2 separate regions of the Homo sapiens genome follow, and region 2 is linked to region 1. The links are contacts of gene promoters, found by promoter capture Hi-C in blood cells and fetal thymus (Javierre and others, 2016). All regions are on one chromosome and are shown on one strand. The core of a region is centred on a gene start or on the middle of the fragment in contact, and the rest is flanking DNA. Distances in the headings are between cores, read along the strand shown.

The links. Contacts are between HindIII fragments. The CHiCAGO score rates a contact against its expected background, and 5 or more counts as called.
Region 2: a fragment that was not itself captured here is called in contact with the fragment with the promoter of ATCAY in region 1 in 1 of 17 cell types (M0 macrophages); the score reaches 5.0 in M0 macrophages.

Annotation. Positions count from the first base shown.
Region 1 is chr19:3,879,268-3,881,993 of GRCh38, reverse strand. It overlaps ATCAY (ATCAY kinesin light chain interacting caytaxin), which reads right to left and starts at 1,309. Exons shown (of 13, transcript NM_033064.5): 1 at 986-1,309. RefSeq lists an enhancer at 1,104-1,634. The HindIII fragment of the contact is 12,603 bases long and covers 1-2,726 here.
Region 2 is chr19:3,231,592-3,234,291 of GRCh38, reverse strand. The region is part of intron 1 of CELF5 (CUGBP Elav-like family member 5); the gene reads right to left. Among named protein-coding and RNA genes, the nearest start is that of CELF5, 8.3 kb to the right of the region's middle. The HindIII fragment of the contact is 4,443 bases long and covers 1-2,700 here.

The DNA of each region.
Region 1 (2,726 bases), core at 60-2,559:
CAGGGTGAGCGTTTCTCACTCGATTCTCTGTCCTCAATGTCGTCATTCATGCTTGGAGGAGGGACAGTAACACGCAGCATGGAAAAAAAAAAAATCCCTCCTGGATGCTATGGGGTCGGGGGGGGGGCGGTGGCAGCAGCCAGCCAGGCCCTTCCCGCGAGGGTAAGTTCTCCTCGGCAGTAGAAACGCATTTGCTCTCCGGAGGAAGGGGTCTTCGCCTCTCCCTTCCTTATACTGAGCTGGGTGTGACCTCAGCCCCCAGGAACACTCCCACCAGCCCCGCCCCCGACCCCCACCCCCTGCCAGCTGCAGCCACAGGCGTTGACTCCACAGTCTTCTAAGGATGGGGTGGGGTGGGTCCTCAGTGGGCCCCGGACACTCCTGCACTCAGATCCTGGCTTCGCATTTGGGGACGGCCAAAAGAAGACAGTGACATCAAGGAACGGGAGTGAAGCGCTCATTTGAGCCCTGATGTCTGATTATTAACAAATCACATACGAGTTCCAATAAGGAGGAGGCATCTGTGTCTTAAACCATAAACCACCCCCTTCCTCCCCACCCCACAGGACAGCCTTTATCGACACACTTAGATTTTTTTTTTTTTTTTTTCCCGAAATCGTCGGCTGGTGGCCTTCCTAGCGTTATAAATAGGAAATACATAGGGCTAGGATGGGTCTATTTCAGCGTCCCAGAGAGAAGCTGAGGTTTTCATCCGCCCGAGCTCTCAGCGTGTCCTGAAAATGGTGCACTTAGAGGGGAACGGTGCGCGCGGAAGGTAAACTGTGTTGCTGGGCGCAGCTCAGGGAACGGTTTTCCCTGGTACCGGGAACAGGGATGTGAGGGCCTTCACGGAGTCACAAGACCGTGGCTCTCTGCTCCCACCCGCCCCATCTGCTGGAAAGGGATTTAGAGGCGGCAAAGGCTGCCGGATAAACCTTCCAGGGAGACGGTTTATCCTGGGAGAAGGGGAGATGCGCGCACTCACCTCTGCAGCTGAGACAGCCTCTCCTCCTTACTGGCAAACAAAGGCGAGCCCTGCCCGGGTGCAGCTGGGCATCGCTCACGCTCCCCGGGCCTTCAGAGCCTAGGAGGAAGAGGATGCTCGCAGGGGCGGATTCTGCATCCGAGGAAGGTCACCCAGGGCGACGTGGCCAGCGCCCGCCAGCTCTTTTGTGCAGGGGTGGGTGGGGTGCAGGGTTAGCGGTGGGCTCCCCAGCGCGGGGCTGCGGCTGCGCCCCCTCTCATCGCCGCCCGCCTGCGCGCCCTGCCTCCGAGGTAGCTGCTTCTTCCCAGCTCAGGGCTGGCAGAGGCTCGGCTTCCCGAAGACGGTTAATTTATGCTGCTTTTGTGTGCAGGGAGGAGGGGGTGGGGGGTGGCGGCCTGACGGAAAAGCACAGCCCCCTGCCAGAATCCGATCCTCCCCATTGGCTGACAGACAAGCATCTCCGAAAGCCACGCCAGGGGCAGAGGCAGAAATAATTTTCTGATGGCGCATCAGAGATTTAAAAACAAAACAACGGACAAATAAATAAATAAATGGCAAGATGGCCTCATTCCTTAGAGAATGGGGGGTGGGGGAGTTGGGAAAGGTCTTCTTGGCACTTCTCCTTGCAAAGGGAGCAGGGGTGAGGGGTGGCATCCCCCAAAAAGTCTGTGCAGGCAAAGAAATGACTGTCCCCAGGTCGGATGCCATGGCTCACGCCTGTAATCCCAGCACTTTCGGAGGCCGAGGAGGGAGGATCACCTGAAGTCAGGAGTTCGATACCAGCCTGGCCAACATGGTGAAACCCCGTTTCTACTGAAAATACAAAAATTAGCCAGGCGTGGTGGCGTGCGCCTGTAATCCCAGCTACTCGGGAGGCTGAGGCAGGAGAATCGCTTGAACCTGGGAGGCGGAGGTTGCAGTGAGCCGAGATGGCGCCACTGCACTGCAGCCTGGGCGGCAGAGGGAGACTCTGTCTCAAAGAAAAAAAAAAAAAAAGAAAGAAATGACTGTCCCCAGGTCACCGTGTTGTGGGTCCATTAGATGGTCACTTACCATTGATTCAGCCTCGTGCCCTAAACAGGGCTGGGTGCAGGGGAGGCGGAAGTTTCTCAGGCACACTCACTTTGCAGGGCTGCTGTGGGAACGGCGCCCCCTGCAGTTGTGCGCTGGCGTGGCCTCGCCCTGGAGGAATTCAAGGAGACTGTGGAAGATGGTAGGGTGGAGAGTGCAGGCCGTGCAGTCGGACTGGAAGTGGGTTTGAACTCTAGCCCAGCCACTCCCCAGCTGGCAGACCAGTGGGCATGAGTGATCTCACCTGCGGGCCTCAGTTTTTCTCATCTGTGAAATGGAGCCGCTATGGCTTTTCCACATTATGAGATAATGCATAGACAGCACTAAACACAGTGCTGGGGCACAAGAAAAGCTCCCTATGTGTTTCTTTCTCTTTCTTTCTTTCTTTCTTTCTTTCTTTCTTTCTTTCTTTCTTTCTTTCTTTCTTTCTTTTTTTTTTTTTTTTAGGTGGAGTCTCGCTCTGTTGCCAGGCTGGAGTACAGTGGTGCGATCTTGGCTCACTGCAACCTCCGACTCCCAGGTTCAAGTGGTTCTCCTCCCTCAGCCTCCCAAGTAGCTGGGATTACAGGCACACACCACCACACCTGGCTAATTTTTTTTTTGTATTTTTAGTAGAGGCGGGGTTTCAACATGTTGGCCAGGCTGGTCTCGAACTCCTGACTTCAGGTGA
Region 2 (2,700 bases), core at 40-2,539, 650 kb after region 1:
TGCCAATCTCTTGAAAGAGGGAGGGAGAGAGAGAGAGAGAGAGAACGAACCACATCACTAGATCCCTTCCTCTTCCTCGCCTCCCTTGCCAAGAGCTGGTGAATTGACCTCCCCTCCTCTACCTGGGCCTCCATTTCCCTATGTGTACAAAGTTCTTCTGGTGGCTCCTAGCTCTGCTAGAGGCATGCCCTCTGGTCCTTCCCCCTAGTGGAGGGTCAGGGACAAGAATGCAAATCCTCTTGGATATAAAGACCCCACCCTCAAAGGCTGCTGGGAGAATGGGAGGGCACTGAGGGGCCTGCTCCACTCTGTCTTCCAGCTACCTCCAGGCGCCGCCGTCTTCAGGAGCTCCTCAGAAGAGCCAGGCATAAGCCTAGTGGCAGAACTTCCTGACACATTCTAGGGCCTTCTGTGCCTTAGTTTCCCCATCTAAAAAATGGAGGACCCAGAATCCACATTGTCCATATTCCCCTGAGAGACCCTGTCCCTCCCCTGCCACAGGTCTCCATGGCTCCACCTCTCTTGGGGTAAAAACCAAAGTCCTTCCAAGACACACAGAACCCGCTCAACAACCTGCGCGACTCCCTCTCTGCCCTCTTCTCCTCCCTCTCTCCCCCTCCTCACTCTGCTCCAGCCACAAGGGCCTCCTTGCTGTTCCTCCAACACACCAGATGTGGTGGTCCTGCCTCAGGGCCTCTGCACTCTTCCTGGAACGCCTTTCCCTTGGTTGTAGCATAACAGCCTTCCCATCTGTCATTCAGGTCTCGTCTCAAACGTCACCTCCTAGAAAGGCCATCTCTGGCCCCCAAGGAAAGCTGTCATCTCCCAACACACATCTTTAGTTTGTTTGTTCACAGCAGCTCACCTCACACCTATCTCAACTTTATTTGTTTCCTAGTTTATCGTCAGTCTCTCCTACCCCCTGAATTGCTTTATGTCCTCAAGCCTCGCTCAATGGCTGGCACACAATACAGACTTAATAAAGTTGTTGCCTTTTGAATTTTGAGACAGGGTTTAGATCTGTTTTCCAGATTGGAGTGCAGTGGCATAATCATGGCTCACTGTAGCCTCCACCTCCCCAGGCTCAAGCCATCCTCGCACCTCAGCCTCCCAAGCAGCTAGGGCTCTAGGCACATGCCACCACGTGCAGCTTTTTTAAAAACTTATTTATTTATTTATTTATTTATTTATTTTTAATTTTAATTTTTATTTTTTTTGAGACGGAGTTTCACTCTTGTTGCCCAGGCTGGAGTGCAATGGCATGATCTCAGCTCACCACAACCTCTGCCTCCCGGGTTCAAGCGATTCTCTTGCCTCAGCCTCCCGAGTAGCTGGGATTACAGACATGCACCACCACACCCGGCTAATTTTGTATTTTTAGCAGAGATGGGGTTTCTCCATGTTGGTCAGGCTGGTCTCGAACTCCCGACCTCTGGTGATCCACCCACCTCGGCCTCCCAAAGTGCTGGGATTATAGGCGTGAGCCACCACGCCCAGCCTAAATTTATTTTTTGTAGAGAAGGGGTCTTGCTATGTTGCCCAGGCTGGTCTGGAACTCCTGGGCTCAAGCAATCCTCCCACCTCAGCCTCCCAAAGTGCTGGGATTACAGGCGTGATGCACTGCAGCCAGCCTGTTGACTATTTTGACTGCCTGACCATTTATGGAGAACACCTACAATATGCAAGTCATTATTCAGGTTAATTACATGAATCACACCACATTTTTTTTTTTCTTTACAGACTCACTCTGTAAAGGGCCTCACTCTATCACGCAGGCTGGGATGCAGTGGTGCGATCATAGTTCACTGTAATCTCTAACTCCTGTGATCAAGCAATCCTCCCTCCTCAGCCTCCTGAGTGGCTGGGACTACAGTTGCACACCACCACACCTGGATATGGTTTTTATTTTTTGTAGAGCTGTGTTGCTCAGGCTGGTCTTGAACTCCTGGGCTCAAGGGATCCTCCCACCTCAACCTCCCAAAGCAATGGGATTACAGGTGTGAGCTACCACGCCTGGCCACATCATATAAATTAGTTCCAATTTTGACAACTGCTCTGTGAACTAGCTACCTGTATTACTTCTCTTTTACAAAGTAGCTAAGGTTCAGAAAAGATGAGGTGACTTTTTCAGGATTACACAGAAATTTAAAAATGGAGCCAGGATTGGAACCAAGCCTGTCTGAGAGCAAAGGTTCTGAACATTCGTATTCACCAGGTGAGGAGGAAGGTAGTAAAGGTTGAGGAAGCATCCTTCCATCCTTCAGTCTATCCCATCTTCTATCCATCATCCATCCATCCATTCATCCATGCACCCACCCATCTATCTAGTATTCCATCCACCAATTACCCATCCATCTTTTCATCCATCCATCCAACCATTAATTTCTCCATCTACCCATCATCCATCCATCTATTCATTCACTCATTCACTCATTCATTCATGCATCCATCCATCCATCCATCCACTCATCTATCCACCCACCTACCCATCCATCCATCCATGCACTCATTGACCCACCAACCCACCCACCCACCCATCCATATGCCCATCCATCGCTCCCCCATCATCCACCAATCTATTCATCCGCCCATCCATCCATCCATCCACCCACCTGCTCATCCATTCACCCACCAATCCATCCATCCATCCATCCACCCATCTACCATCCATCCATCTATCCATCCATCCATCCATCCACC